2 separate regions of the Homo sapiens genome follow, and region 2 is linked to region 1. Evidence: promoter capture Hi-C in 16 types of primary human blood cells and fetal thymus (Javierre and others, 2016). All regions are on one chromosome and are shown on one strand. The core of a region is centred on a gene start or on the middle of the fragment in contact, and the rest is flanking DNA. Distances in the headings are between cores, read along the strand shown. Region 1 holds the start of EIF3G (eukaryotic translation initiation factor 3 subunit G). Region 2 holds the start of OLFM2 (olfactomedin 2).

Region 1 (7,748 bases), core at 1-2,500:
TGGGGAAGAAGAGCCTCACCTTCCTCCTTGCGACAGCCTTTGAAGCCTTCCGGGTCTCAATCCTGAAGGTGCGGACAATCTGAGGATGGGAGGGGAGAAGGGTCAGGCTCCTGGGACCAAGGGATCTCCTTTATCAACCTCCTCAACACACCCCACCCCATTCCGGTCTATGGGCCCCCAAGCACAAGGGTCCCCACTCCCTGCACCCCCCACCCTCACCTTGAACTTCTTGCCATCCTCATCTATCTTGTACTCTGTCACTGTCTTTATGTTTCCGTTGATGACCTCCTTGGGAGGCGGCAGTGGAGCTGGCAGAAGGGGAAAAACAGAGAAAGACTGAGCCCTGGGTCATGGGGATCAGGAGCGGCAGGGCTGGAGGGAGAGGCAGCCCGGACACCGAGTGGCAGTCCTCACTCACCTCCCGGCAGTCCTCACTCACCTCCCGGCAGTAGCTCTGGCTCTGGGCTGGTGTCACCTGTGGCCAGAGGGATCCCCTTGAGGAGCTCGCTGGTGACACATTTGTCTGCAAAAGGCAGCGTAGGAAGGAGGAGTCAGCTCCAGGGGCAGGAGCTCCCCAGCTGCGATGGAAGGGCTTTTGGGATGACGCCTACAGCAAAAGCGGAGAAAGGCAGGCCAAGGGCAGAGGGCTGGCCAGGCAACGCACTGGGATGGCCCTGTGGGGACTCGGAGTGGCAAGGATGGGAGATCCCTCGTAGGAAGGTGGGTGCCAGGCCATGAAGCCAACCAGGCGCCAGTAGAGAAACAGGAGACGGGAGATTACAACTTCCTCCCTGGAGGGGAACAGCTGGGAGGCAGTGGCATGGGAGGAAGAGGGACCCGCCGGGGAACACCTGGAGTTGGCAACAGGCGGGTCCCAAGGAGGATGGCGCGGGGCAGGGGCAGACCGTGACGGGGTACACGGTGCCAGACTGGGAGATGGAAGCAGGCGGCAGTCACACGGCTTGGGCCTGGCCGCGAATACCCCGGGCGACCGTGTACACTTACCGTCCTCCCCCTCCTCCTCCACCTGGTCGGCCCAACTGGGCTTCGAACTGCGGAAACAAATGTGTGGGGAACGAAGATTAAGTCAGCCAGGCCCGGCTCCCGCAGCCTCGGCGTACCCAGGCCCCATAATACTTCCCAGAGCACCCCAACCGCTTCCCGTGCCCCTTTCCGCGATCGCCGACTCACTCAAAGTCTCCAGTAGGCATCGCAAAAAGTATTCTCCACGCAGCCCAAGCCCGGCCAGAGAGCGGAAGCGGGCGAAAACGAGACTTCCGGTGCCGCCGTCGCCGCCTAGAGGGGCCCAGCCGCGGCACCCACAGCGACACCTGCGGACGGAGGTGGAGGCGCACGCGGCTGTGTATGCTACTGGGCGCTGCTGGTACCAGAGTAGGGCCAGCGGGGGCAGAGGCTGATTTCAGGGCTGGTCCTATTAACCTTTAAAATTAAAATAGGCCAGGCGAGGTGGCTCAAGCCTGTAATCCTCGCACTTTGGGAGGTCGAGGCGGGCGGATCACCTGAGGTAAGGAGTTCGAGACCAGCTTGGCCAACGTGGCGAAACCCCGTCACTACTAAAAACACAAAAATTAACTGGGCGTGGTAGTGCGTGCCTGCAGTTCCAGCTACTCGGGAGGCTGAGGCAGGAGAATCGCTTGAACCCGGGAGGCGGAGGTTGCAGTGAGCCGAGATCGCGCCACTGCACTCCAGCCTGGCGACAGAGCGAGACACCGTCTCAAAAAAAAAAAAAAAAAAAAAATTAGCCAGGCGTGGTGGTGGGCACCTGTAATCCCAGCTACTCGGGAGGCTGAGGCGGGAGAATCGCTTGAACCCAGGAGGCGGAGGCTGCAGTGAGCCGAGATCGCACCACTGCACTCCAGCCTGGGGCTGCAGAGTGAGACTCCGTCTCAGAAAAATAAGTAAAATTAAAATAAATAATAATAATCATAAAGCTCACTTATTGAGTGCTTATTGTATATGAAGCATGGTGAGGAGGATATTACTTCCATTTTACAGCTGAAGAAACTGAGGCTCAGACTGGGTGCAGTGGCGCCTGCCTGTAATCCCGCACTTTGGGAGACCAAGGCGTGGGGATGGCTTGAGGCCAGGAGTTTGAGACAAGCCTGGGCAACATAGTGAGACCCCTGTCTCTAAAAAAGAAAAAAAGAAAAAGAAAGAAAAAAGAAACCAAAGTTCGGGGAAAACAATCCTTTTGCTTAAACTGTTCCTTGTCTTCTTTCCCGATCCCAATGATTCAGATGCCAAGTGGCCTCCCCTCAGCCACTCCCTCTTCTTTTCTTTGTAGCATTCTTGGCTTTCCGGTATAATTTTGTGCATTTACTTGTTTATTGCTCAGCTCCTTGCTCTAAGCACAACCGTCCTCAGTCGAAGTGATTCATGATGACTCCCCAGGGGAAAAAACTGGTCCTCAGGGAGGAAAAAAATCTTAGATATTGTGGTCTTCCAAAGCCAGCTCTATCAGACAGCATTTATCCCTAAGTATTTAGTTTCTGCCTTTAGGGAGATATTAAATGTAATTAAATTGAAATTAATTTAGTTGATGTAAATTCAATTTTAGGATAATTCGGGTTTTCTCCTAAGAAGGGTGATAATGAACAAAAAACGTTTGACAATGTCGGACGCAGTGGCTCACGCCTGTAATCCCAGCACTTTGAGAGGCCAAGATGGGCAGATCTCTTGAAGTCAGGAGTTCGAGACCAGCCTGGGCAATATGGCGAAACCCCGTCTTTACTAAAAATACAAAAATTAGCTGGGTGTGGTGGCCCGCGCCTGTAATCCCAGAACTTTGGGAGACTGAGGCAGAAGGATCACTTCAGCCCTGGAATTCGACCAGCCTGGGCAACACATAGTGAGACCCCCCATCTCTAAAAAACAACTTTTTTTTTTTTTTTTGAGATGGAGTCTCACTCTGTCGCCCAGGCTGGAGTGCAGCGGCGCAATCGCGGCTCACTGCAACCTCTGCCTTCCGGGTTCTAGTGATTCTCCTGCCTCAGCCTCCCGAGTAGCTGGGATTACAGATGACCACCACCACGCCGTGCTAATTTTTGTGTTTTTAGTAGACGGTTTAGTAGAGACGGGGGCCCACCTCGGCCTCCCAAGGTGCTGGGATTACAGGTGTGAGCCACTGCGCCCGGCCCTTAAAAAAATTTTTTTTTTTTAATCAGCTGGGCATAGTTCTGTGTGCCTGTAGTCCCAGATACTCAGGAGGCTGAGGTGGGAGAACAGCTTCAGCCCAGGAGGTTGAGCCATGATCATGCGACTGTACTTCAGCCTGGGTAACAGAGAGAGACCCTGTCTCAAAAACACACACACGCACACACACACACGCAACAAAACAAAAAATAACTTGTAAGGGAGAATGCCCTGAGAAAAATAAATAAGAAGACAGGAAAAAAAAGTTTATGCTTTTTTATCCTCTGAGTTGTGAGTGAGGAGGCCACTCAAGTGTTTGGAATATCACCAACTTTTCTTGTGGAAAAAATTATTCTAGAAGCCTGTAGAGAGCCAAGTGGAAGGGAAAACATTAGCTGGAGAGCAGGAAAGAGAGGCACGCCGCTGTGGCCTTTCAGGAGGGTGGCCTGGCTATATTGGTGAAAATATGAAGCTGGTCCAAAGGACTGATAAACATTTTTACAAGCTTACTCAAATGTACTCTGAGCAACACAAAATCCAAACAACCCAGCAGATTGGGCAAAGCTTCAAAAATTCGATATCACCCCGTGGTAGTAAAGATGTTATAGGGAAACAGGCTGGGCACCTGTAATCGGGAGGCCGAGGTGGGTGGATCACCTGAGGTTAGGAGTTCAAGACCAGCCCCTGGCCAACATGGTGAGATGCCGTCTCTACTAAAAATACAAAAAAAAAAAAAAAAAAATCTGGCCATGGTGGTGGGTGCCTGTAATCCCAGCTACTTGGGAGGCTGAGGCAGGAGAATCGCCATTGCACTCCAGCCTGGGCGACAGAGCAAGACTCCATCTCAAAAAAAAAAAAAAAAAAAAGAGGAAGCGATATATAAAATGGCATATATTACAGGAACCAATTTGTGTAAATCTTCAACAGCACATAGATATGCAGATATATGCAAATCATTTCCTGGAAAGAAAGAATCAGAACCTGTTAATGAGGAATGCTTTGGAAAGAAGGCACCAAGAAAGGAAATATTATTTTTGGACATGTATTAATATATAATATGCATTTATGTAATATATGTGAGATGTAACATATAAATATATTTCTTGGCTGGGCACTGTGGTTCGTGCCTATAATCCCAGCAGTTTTGGAGGCCAAGGCAGAAAGATTTCTTGAGCCCAGGAGTTCAAGACCAGACTAGGCAACATCATTGAGACCCCATCACTACACACAAAAAATTGCTGGGTGTGGTAATGCACGCCTGTAGTCCCAGCTACCTGGGAGGCTGAGGTAGGAGGATTGCTTGAGCCCAGGAGGTCAAGGCTGCAGTGAGCTATGATTGTGCCATTACACTCTGGCCTGGGTGACAGAGCAAAAACCCTGTCTCTAAAAAAGAAAGAGGCTGAGCACAGTGGCTCACGTCTGTAATCCCAGCACTTTGGGAGGCCAAGGCAGGCAGATGACCTGAGGTCAGGAGATCAAGACCAGCCTGGAAAACGTGGTGAAAACCCATCTCTATTAAAAATACAAAAATTACCTGAGCATGTTGGTGCATGTCTGTAATCCCAGCTACTCAGGAGGCTGAGGCAGGAGAATCGCTGGAGCCCAGGAGGTGAGGCTGCCATGAGCCAAGTGCTGGGATTACACAGGTGTGAGCCACATCAAGGTTTGGGTGCAAGAGTACATCTGGTTATAGATTACAGAAGCATAATACCCTGACCCCATTAGATGTTATTTTATGTGTAGGAAAAGGTTTGAACCAGGTCCTTTTTTTTTTTTTTTTTTTTGAGATGGAGTCTCACTCTGTTGCCCAGGCTGGAGGGCAGTGGCACAATCTCGGCTCACTGCAAGCTCCGCCTCCTGGGTTCACGCCATTCTCCTGCCTCAGCCTCCTGAGTAGCTGGGACTACAGGCACCCGCCACCACGCCCAGCTAATTTTTGTATGTTTAGTCGAGATGGGGTTTCACCGTGTTAGCCAGGATGGTCTTGATCTCCCGACCTTGTGATCCGCCCACCTTGGCCTCCCAAAGTGCTGGGATTACAGGTGTGACCCACCCGTGCCCGGCCCAGGTCCTTTTTTTCTTTTTTCTTTTTTTTTTGGGGGACGGAGTCTTGCTCTATTGCCCAGGCTGGAGTGCAGTGGTGCGATCTCAGCTCACTGCAACCTCCGCCTCCTGGGTTCAAGCGGTTCTCCCGCCTCAGCCTCCTGAGTAGCTGGGATTACAGGCATGCACACCACCACACCCGGCTAATTTTGTATTTTTAGTAGAGACGGGGGTTTCTCCATATTGGTCAGGGTAGTCTCGAACTCCCGACCTCAGGTGATCCGCCTGCCTGGGCCTCCCAAAGTGCTGGGATTACAGGCATGAGCCACCGCACCTGGCACGCCTTTTTTTTTTTTTTTTTTTTTTTGAGACAGGGTCTTTCTCTGTCACCCAGGCTGGAGTGCAGTGGCACGATCACAGCTCACTGCAGCCTCAACCTCCCCAGGCTAAGGTGATGCCCTTGCCCTGGTCTCCCAAAATGCTGGGATCACAGGCATGAACCACCGTGCCCAGACTCATTTAAGGAATATAGTGACTCGGGCAAGGGACATGGTGTGCCCTGTGCTCTGTCCTGTTTTGTCTTCAAAGCCTTGTTCTGTAGAGCTGCGCAGACGTGTCTCACGTGTCTCAGAGTCAGGGGCTTTGTGAAATTACGCTGGAAAGCAGAATTGAGCAAACCCAGCTTAACATTAGTTACTTTTTCTCACATTTTCACAACAAAATATCACAGACTAGGAGGCTTAAACAGCACACATTTATTTTCTCAGTTCTGGAGGCTGGAAGTCCAAGATCACAGTGTCGGCAGGGTTGGTTTCTTCTGAGGTGGGGGCACCTTCTCCCTCGGTCCTCACGTGGCCTCCTCTGTGTGTGTCTATGTCCCAATCTCTTCTTCTAAGGACATCAGTCATATTGGATTAGGGCCCACCCTAATGACCTCATTTAAACTTTTTTTTTTTAATTATTTTTTTTAAAGGTGAAGTCTCACTCTGTAGTCCAGGCTGGAGTGCAGTGGTGCAATCTCAGCTAATGGCAACCTCCACCTCCTGGGTTCCAGTGATTCTCCTGCCTCAGCCTCCCGAGTAGCTGGGTCTACAGGCATGTGCCACCACACCTGGCTAATTTTTGTATTTTTGTATTTCTAGTAGAGACGGGGTTTCACCAAGTTGGCCAGGCTGGTCTCAAACTCCTGATCTCAAGTGGTTTGCCTGCCACGGCCTCCCAACGTGCTGGGATTACAGGCATAAGCCACCACACCTGGGTTTAATTTTCTCTCTAAAGGTCCTGTTTCTGCTGGGCACAGTGGATCACGTCTGTAATCCCAGCACATTGGGAGGCCAAGGTGGGCGGATCCCTTGAGGTCAGGAGTTCGAGACCAGCCTGGCCAACATAGCGAAACCCCTGTTGTCTACTACAAATACAAAAATTAGCCAGGTGTGGTGGCAGGCATCTGTAATCCCAGCTGCTCGGGAGGCTGAGGCATGGCAATCCCTTGAACCCGGGAGGCAGAGGTTGCCATGAACCAATACTGCGCCACTGAACTCCAGCCTGGGCGATGGAGTGAGACTCCTTTTTTTTTTTTGAGATGGAGTTTTGCTCTTGTTGCCCAGGCTGGAGTGCAGTGGCATGATCTTAGCTCACCGCAACCTCCACCTCCCGGGTTCAAGTGATTCTCCTGCCTCAGCTTCCCTAGTAGCTGGAATTACAGGCATGTGCCACCATGCCCAGCTAATTTTGTATTTTTAGTAGAGACGGGGTTTCTCCATGTTGGCCAGGCTAGTCTTGAACTCCAAACTCAGGTGATTCGCCTGTCTTGGCCTCCCAAAGTGCTAGGATTATAGGTGTGAGCCGCCGCACCCGGCCAAGACTTTGTAAAAAAAAATAAAAATAGGCCATGCGCGGTGGCTCACACCTGTAATCCCAGCACTTTGGGAGGCCGAGGTGGGAGGATCACTTGAGGTCAGGAGTTCGAGACGAGCCTGGCCAACATGATGATACCCCATCTCTACTAAAAATACAAAAATCAGCTGGGTGTGGCCAGGCATGGTGGCTCACGCCTGTAATCCCAGCACTTTGGGAGGCCAAGGTAGGTGGATCACCTGAGGTTGGGAGTTCGAGACCAGCCTGACCAACATGGAGAAACCCTGTCTCTCCTAAAAATACAAAATTAGCTGGGCGTGGTGGCGCATGCCTGTAATCCCAGCTACTCAGGAGGCTGAGGCAGGAGAATCGCTTGAACCCAGGAGGCAGAGGTTGTGGTGAGCCGAGATCCTGCCATTGCAGTCCAGCCTGGGCAACGAGAAGGTAACTCTGTTTCAAAAGAAAAAAAAAAAAAACAGCTGGGCGTGGTGGTGCGTGCCTGTAATCCCAGCTACTAAGGAGGCTGAGGCAGGAGAATCACTTGAACCCAGGAGGCGGAGGTTGCAGCGAACCAAGATTGCGCCATTGCACTCCAGCCTAGGCAACAGAGACTCCATCTCAAAAAAAAAAAAAAAGTAAATAGAGATAAAAAGAAAGAAATACTAAATTGATGGACATGCAGATGTGGTAACAGC
Region 2 (7,748 bases), core at 3,439-5,938, 180 kb before region 1:
TAGCACACGCTCACTCCAAGGCTCTCACACGGCCACACACCTGGCCACACACGTATTGTACAACACCCAGTCATCTGGAGCCAGTAATGAGGACACGGTCACACACAGACTCTGTCTCACGTACTGATCACACCCCAACTCGGGCACTAGTTGGACAAGCCCCCCAACCGCCACACACACAAACTCCCCCCGGTCACACCCAACCACGACACAAAGACACACACGTTTACCCTGCACCCCCACAGCATTTCACACGCGTCCCCGTCAGTCACTCTCACGTGAGTCCCGTCCCCTGCCCCACACTGGGGGCTGCAGGCGAGGAGTGGAGGGCTTCAGAAACTGGGCATCTCGGCCCCGAAGAGGAAGTCAAGGGTAAGCAACCGCCCCCCTCCAATGCCCCCTGAAGTTTCCCTCCCAACCCCATTCAGCTCCAGCGAGATGGCGGGGTGGGGGCTCGGGGCCATGGAGGGGTTGAGAACCCCAAAGACGCCACCCCCCAAACCAGCCCAGCTTGAGGCTGGATTTGAAGCCCCCCTCGTCCTCTCCCAAGCCAGAGAGTGCACGTCCCGGCCCCTCCCCCGCTGCGACCCCCGCCCCTCGCCGCCCTGCAGCTGGGGGGGCTTGTGGAGCCTCCCAACCCCGTTTCTCCGGGAACCCTCCGCGCCCCCCTCCTCTCCCGGAGCCACCCGCGCCCGCACCTGCCCGCCGGGCCCCTACCTGTCCGGCCAGGCCTGAGCACAGCAGCAGCAGCAGCGGCGGCGGGACCGTGAGCGGCCACATGACGCGCCCCTAGCCCGGCGTCCCGACCCCCGCCCGCCCTAGCGGCGCCTCGGCGCGGGGACCGCCACCAGGCGCGACCCCGCCCGCCCGGCCGGGGCGACCCTGCGCCGCCGCCTCCCCCGCCTCGCCGGCGGCCGGGATTCCGCCCCACCCCCGCCCCCTCGCTCGCTCCGAGTCTTTGTTGCGGGCTCCGCCCCCCGCCCCGCCCCCAGCTCCTCTTCGGGAGCAGCTCGAGCAGGGTCGGGTGGGGGGGTGGGGGCGGGGAAGTGGGGGAGCCAGCGCCGGCGAGGGGACCTGAGGACAGGACTTGGCAGCGCCCCCCAACCCCCAGGCCATTCCGGGAGCGGGTCGCGGAGGTGGGGGAGGGGTGCCCGTCACGTGTTTGTAAATTTCACCCTCCGGGGGCATTTCCCACGTTGCAGGTGGGACGGGGACGAATGGTTGGGGGAGAGGAATAGGAGGAAGGCCTGGTAGCAGAGAGGGGAAATGATGAACGCCCCCTCCCTAAAAACTCAAGAGTCAACAGGGAAACTGAGGCAGAATCTGAAATTGGAAGTTGGAGGAGGGGTCAATGCCAGGACAAGAGGGGTGAGGCATAGATGGAGACGGGGAATAAGAGGAAAAAATTGAGGTTGGGGGGACAGGAGACCGAGAATCAGGCAAGAGGCCAATGGAAATGGCCACGTGGGTGGGCTTGGCCTCAAAAAGGGGCGTCTCGTTTTCACTCTCCCCGGGCGCCCCATTTCCCCACCAGTCCTCCCGCTGGAAGCCTCCCCGCCTCCGCCACACCTGGAAGAGTTTCTCTTCGCTCCCTGTTTCAATAGCCCAAGATGAAAGACCACATCCCCCGAGAGAATCAAAATATTAACACCGCCTCCACGCGAAGCCATTTGCATATGAAGGGCGTCCTTGTCTAGCCTCACTTTCGGGAGGCTTTCCAGCCTTTCTCTGCCTCTCACTCCTCCAAAAGTCTCCCTAGGCCGGGCGCGGTGGCTCACGCCTGTAATTCCAGCAATTTGGGAGGCTGAGGAGGGTGGATCATCTGAGGTCAGGAGTTCAAGACCAGCCTGGCCAACATGGCAAAACCCCACCTCTACTAAAACATACAAAAATTAGCCGGGCGTGGTGGTGCATGCCTGGAATCCCAGCTACTCGGGAGGCTGAGACAGGAGAATCGCTTGAACCCGGGAGGCAGAGGTTGCAGTGAGCAGAGATCGTGCCATTGCACTCCAGCCTGGGCAACAGGAGCAAACCTTGTCTCAAAAAAAAAAAAAAAAAAAAAGTGTCCCTAGTCGTCTTTCCTCCCCACAGCCCCTCTAGGGATTCGGATATATGTAGGCAGAGGTGGAGGAGGGGGGCGGGCAAATAAGTCAGATTGGAAAGAAATCGGGCATAAAATATGCGAGGCCAGGAAGCCTGGCATTTTTGTGACCCTGATACTGTTGGGCTAGGAGGGGTCTCCCCAGACGCTGGTGGGGCCTCGACCCCAGCTGGTGTCCAGGCTCTTAACACCATCGCAAGAATGAATTCAAGGAGGAATCAGAAAATCATGAAAAGTTCGGAGATTTTTTTGTTAAGGGAAAAGTCCACACTTGAGAAAAGGGAGTGGGCGTACTTAAGAGAGAGAGATGGGCAAGGTGGTTTGGGACTGCTACCTTTATGTGTCTCTTTTTTTTTTTTTTTTTTTTTTTTTTTGAGACAAAGTCTCGCTCTGTCACCCAGGCTGGAGTGCAGTGGTGTGATCTCGGCTCACTGCAACCTCTGCCTCCCAGGTTCAAGCAATTCTCCTGCCTCAGCCTCCTGAGTAGCTGGGATTACAGGTGTGCGCCATCACAGCCGGCTAATTTTTTGTGTTTTTAGTAGAGACAGGGTTTCACCATATTGGCCAGCCTGGTCTCAAACTCCTGACCTCGTGATCCACCCGCCTTGGCCTCCCAAAGTGCTGAGATTACAGGCGTGAGCCACCACAACAGGCCACTGTGTATCTCTTTAACCAAGGGATGGAATATTCATGAAAACTGGAAAAAGGTGGACTGTGGTGCCACCCACTTTTACACCAAATTTGGGTGTCCCTGGAATTGTCAAGGGCGCTGGTGGGTGGGTAATTTTAGTATTTTAATGAGTACATAATGAGATCCTAGGTGAAACCTAGGTAGAATGTAACGCCATGTTGGGTCCAGTAGGTCTTAGCCAGCTTGGTCCACACCCTGGTTTTCAGGATCTTATCAGCCCATAGCCTCTAGTCATGTGAAACGGCTGCCTGTGACCACCCTGGATCATTCCTGTCTCAACCCTACTGGGGATAAAACATGTCGATGATGGTTTTGTCAGGTCAATGAGAAAGAGCTTGGTGACCCACAGATCTGGGTTCAACCCTGGTGCTGCCACTTCTTGGCCATGTGACCTTAGGGAAAAAGCTTTCCCCCTCTTAGAAGACCTGTTTTTTGCAGTTATTGGGAGACATCTGTGACTCTAAGCAAAGAGAGCACCTAGCTAGCACTCACTCCCCAGCACGCCTTGCAATAACCAACCATGCACTGGGTTGAGGACACTCATCATGGGATGTGGACACAAAATAGAGTCTGAGCCTGCGAAGACATCCTGTTTATTCTTCTATCTCTTTTTTTTTTTTTTTTTTTTGAGATGGAGTCTCACACTGTCACACCCAGGCTGGAGTGCAGTGGCTTGATCTCGGCTTACAACCTCTGCCTTCCGGGTTCAAGGAATTCTCCCGCCTCGGCCTTCCAAGTAGCTGGGATTGCAGGTGCCTGCCACCAGGCCTGTCTAATTTTTCATATTTTTAGTAGAGATGGGGTTTCACCATATTGGCCAGGCTGGTCATGAACTCTTGACCTCAGGTGATCCACCTGCCTCAGCCTCCCAAAGTGCTGGGATTACAGGCATGAGCCACCGCACCCATCCTATTCTTCTATCTCCTTTTCCCAAATGGGAGACAGTCCTTTGTGGGCCCTTCAGGCCAAGCCTGCAGTTGGCATTGCATAAAAGGAGGACATTGGTTGGTAGGACCCACAAGCTCTTGACCAAGAGTGGGTCTCACGGTCAAGAGTCAGCACTCTTGACTCATGAATGCTGCATTTCAGGACCATGAACAGTGTCCTCCTTGGGCTCTGGTCACTAAGACGATCACAGTTACAACTAAGCTACAGCCTGTGTTATATGGTTGGAATTTGGTCGATATGCACTTAGATCTATTCCCCACTTTCCCCCTGCTCCCCTCTGTATCAGGGCAATGGCTCCTGCAAATTATCTTTCTCAGGTTCTCTACACACTACATTTCCCAGGCTTCTTTGCATCTGGTTAGGCTCAGCCAATGGGAGGTCTACAGGCAGATTGGAGGGTGCCAAGAAAGGAGAAGCCAGAGAATTTCCCCCCCTCCACTTTGAGTGTCTCTAGCCATGGCTGCTGTGCCTCCTCTGTGGTCTCAGTCCCATTAGGTATTCCCCACCATGGTGGGGGGTGGGGGCAGGTGACTGGCCAGGTAACTGCAGCTCCTGGATTCAGGTAACTACCACCTCCCTTTGTTGTTTCAGTCCTTGCAAAGATGATAGCTAGCAACTAGAGTTGATTCACCTGCTCCAGTTTGCGCTTAAAACCAACCTAATAGGGCCAGGTGCGGTGGCTCATACCTGTAATCCCAGCACTTTGGGAGGCTGAAGTGGGTGGATCACCTGAGGTCAGGTGTTTGAGACCAGCCTGCCCAACAAGGCAAAATGCTGTCTCTACTAAAAATACAAAAAATTAGCCAGGCATGGTAGCAGGTGTCTGTAATGCCAGCTACTGAGGAGGCTGAGGCAGAAGAATCGCTTGAACCCAGGAGGTAGAGATTGCAGTGAGCTGAGATCATGCCATTGCACTCCAGCCTGGGCAACAATAGTGAAACTCTGTCTCAAAAAAGAAAAAAACAAAAACAAAACCTACCTATCGGCTGAGTGCCATGGCTAACACTTCTAATCCCAACACTTTGGGAGGCTGAGGCAGGTGGATTGTTTGAGCCAAGGAGTTCAAGACCAGCCTGGCCAACATCTCTGTAGAGATGCTGCATCTCTACCAAAAATACAAAAATGAGCCAGGCATGGTGGTGCACACCTGTAGTCTCAGCTACTCAGGAGGCTGAGGTGGGACGATCATCTGAGCCTGAGAAGGTCGAGACTGCAGTGAGCTATGATTACTCCACTGCACTCCAGCCTGGGCAACAGAGTGAGACCCTGTCTCAAAAAACCCCACAAAAGCAAACAAACAAACAAACCTACCTACCTAATACCTCAGTGTGTGGCTAATTAAAGTCCCCATATTAAATTCTTTCTATTGAATTTGCTGGGATGGGCTGTTTTTCTGACTGGACCTTAGTCAATGCATTCGATGCCGTTGGTCGTTGACTGGTATGGTTAGTGGCCCTCTGGGTGTCCTGATGGCATTGTGGTTTGTGTCCTGTTGAACCGGGATCTGTGCTGCCGTCAACATCCTGGTTCTGCCAGGGTCAGCATTGTGGTCAGAATTGTGGTCACTCCTGGTCATTCTTGGTTGTGTTGTGGTCAGTGTGGTGATTAGTACTACAGTCAGTTTCCTGGTTATGCTGTGCTCTGTCCTAGTGCTATGGTCCTTGTCCTGAGCTTGCTGTGGATAATGACCTGGCCAAGCTATGGTCAAAATTATGATTGAGTCATACTAAGGTCAAAGTCACACTCAGCATCCTAGTTGCACTGATATCAGCTTCAAGGTCAGCACTGTGGTTAATGTTAAGAAGAGTGCACTGTCTATGGTGCAGTGGTCAGAATTGTGGGCCATCATTGAAGAGACATCAGGATCCGCTTCTCAAGGATCTATTGTGGCAAAATGGATGAACTGGGGACTCAGGGTCTGGCACTGGGCACAGGTCATTCTCCATGACAGGAAGCAGGGAGGCAGGGCGTTGGATCTTGCCATCTGGCCATTGGGTTTTTCTAATTGGCACTTGGACAGCCAATTAGACAGGAACTTGGACAGCCATGGGTTCCTGTCACCCTCTCACAGCCCACATCTGTTTCCTCACACCCTGCACCACCCACTTCATAGAGAAAATGATCATGAAGTGAATGCCTGCCAACACATACCTTTGCTCTTGCTAATCCCTGAATATATTATTTAGAGGTCCTTTGGTAGAATTTAGCAGAAACTCAACTTGAACTGGATTAAGAAAAAAAATCTATTGGCTCATATAACTTAAACAAAAATGAGGGTAGTGGAATTCAGTCATGGCTGGATCCAGGGTTTCTGTTATATCATCAGGATTCTGTCTCTCTCCATTCCTCATCTCTCATTTCTCATCTCTCATTTCTCATTCCATGCTGTCTTTTGGGAAGGATTCACTTTTAGCCAAGAGATGACAAAGATGGTTTCCAGAAGCTTCTCTCTTCCAAGCTCAGCAGCATCAGCAAAAAGAGAGCTTGCAAAATAATGTCTCATTATGCATCCCAAGTTGTGTGCCCATCCTGAACCAATTATGTATTCAGAGGAATTCATTATTTGGCTTGGCTAGGTCTGGCTCATAGATCACCCCCACGGAGCCAGAGAGTGCAGTTAGCCTTATTCAACCTACATTGGATAGGAAGTGGGAGGTAGAGAAGGATATAGAATGTTGACCACTAAAAGAGAGAAAGGACACTGTACAAGCAAAACCAAAATATATGGTTTTGGGCAGGGGGTGGTTCTTGGCATCATTTCAACCCCCTAGTATGCATTCCTTATTATAGAGCCTGCAAAGCGAAAATACTTCCAGACTCCCTTGCAGCTAAACTTCTGTAGGCCAATTAGGTTTCATCCATTAGAAGCATGAGAAGTGGGTGGTGGAAGAAGGTGGAATTAATCTTCCTGTTATGCTGGTAGAGGCAGCTGCTAAGCACAATTGGGAGACACTGGATTTTCCTGCAGGAATGTTCCTGTTTCCAATTGTGAGAACAACCCGTTTTTGTTGAGAGTCCATTGCAGTAACAATGATGACTGCCTCCGTATCTCTGAATTGCAACTTTCCTGGTGTTTTCATTGTTTTGTTGTTCCTGTTGCTGTTGTTGTTGTTGTTGTTTTTGAGATAGAGTCTCGCTGTGTCACCCAGGCTGGAGTGAAGTGATGGGATCTTGGCTCACTGCAACCTCCACCTCCCAGACTCAAGCAATCCTTCCACCTCAGTCCATCCCAGTAAATGGGACTGCAGTTGCATGCCACCACACCTTGCTAATTTTCTGTATTTTCTGTAGAGATGGAGTCTCTCCATTTGCCTAGGCTTGTCTCAAACTCCTGGGCTCAAGGGATCCACCCGCATTGGCCTCCCAAAGTGCTAGGATTACAGGCGTGAGTCACCACGCCCAGCCATGCTGTTCCTTTTTATGGTTCAATAATATTCCATTGTGTGGATATCCCATATTTTGTTCATTAATTATGGTGATGTAGTCTTAAAGTCAAAAATCCCCACTCTAGGGGATAATTCTCCACCTCCCTGCTAATAATAGAGGCAGAAGCTCCTGCTTGGGTGAGTTGGGAGGTGATGGTTTTTGTTTTGTTTTTGTTTTTGTTTTGAGATGGAGCCTCGCTCTGTTGCCCAGGCTGGAGTGCAGTGGTACAATCTCAGCTCACTGCAACCTCCACCTCCTGGATTCAAGCAATTCTCCTGCTTCAGCCTCCAGAGTAACTGGGATTACAGGCACATGCCATCACGCCCAGCTAGTTTTTTGTATTTTTAGTAGAGACAGGGTTTCACTATGTTGGCCAGGCTGGTCTTGAACTCCTGACCTCAAGTGATGTGCCTTCCTTGGCCTCCCAAAGGGATAGGATTACAGGGGTGAGCCATTGCTCCCAGCCGGGAGGTGGTGTTTTGTAGCAAGTCATTCTATCGGCTTTCCCTAGATCCCTATTCTCCAGCCTTGGTTCTGTAAGCACCAAGTTCCCTGGTTTTGGTTCTCATTTCCTGCAACTAA

What was found. Contacts are between HindIII fragments. The CHiCAGO score rates a contact against its expected background, and 5 or more counts as called.
Region 2: a contact is called between a fragment that was not itself captured here and the fragment with the promoter of EIF3G in region 1, in 3 of 17 cell types (naive B cells, endothelial precursors and total B cells). The highest score is 5.3, in naive B cells.

The regions. Positions count from the first base shown.
Region 1 is chr19:10,118,649-10,126,396 of GRCh38, forward strand. It overlaps EIF3G (eukaryotic translation initiation factor 3 subunit G), which reads right to left and starts at 1,251. Exons shown (of 11, transcript NM_003755.5): 1 at 1,192-1,251; 2 at 1,006-1,052; 3 at 440-523; 4 at 220-308; 5 at 20-79. The coding sequence starts at 1,211. RefSeq lists enhancers at 1-753, 754-1,509. The HindIII fragment of the contact is 4,736 bases long and covers 1-3,656 here.
Region 2 is chr19:9,935,587-9,943,334 of GRCh38, forward strand. OLFM2 (olfactomedin 2) reads right to left here and starts at 929. Exons shown (of 6, transcript NM_058164.4): 1 at 718-929. The coding sequence starts at 780. RefSeq lists enhancers at 185-779, 1,446-1,948. The HindIII fragment of the contact is 2,986 bases long and covers 3,196-6,181 here.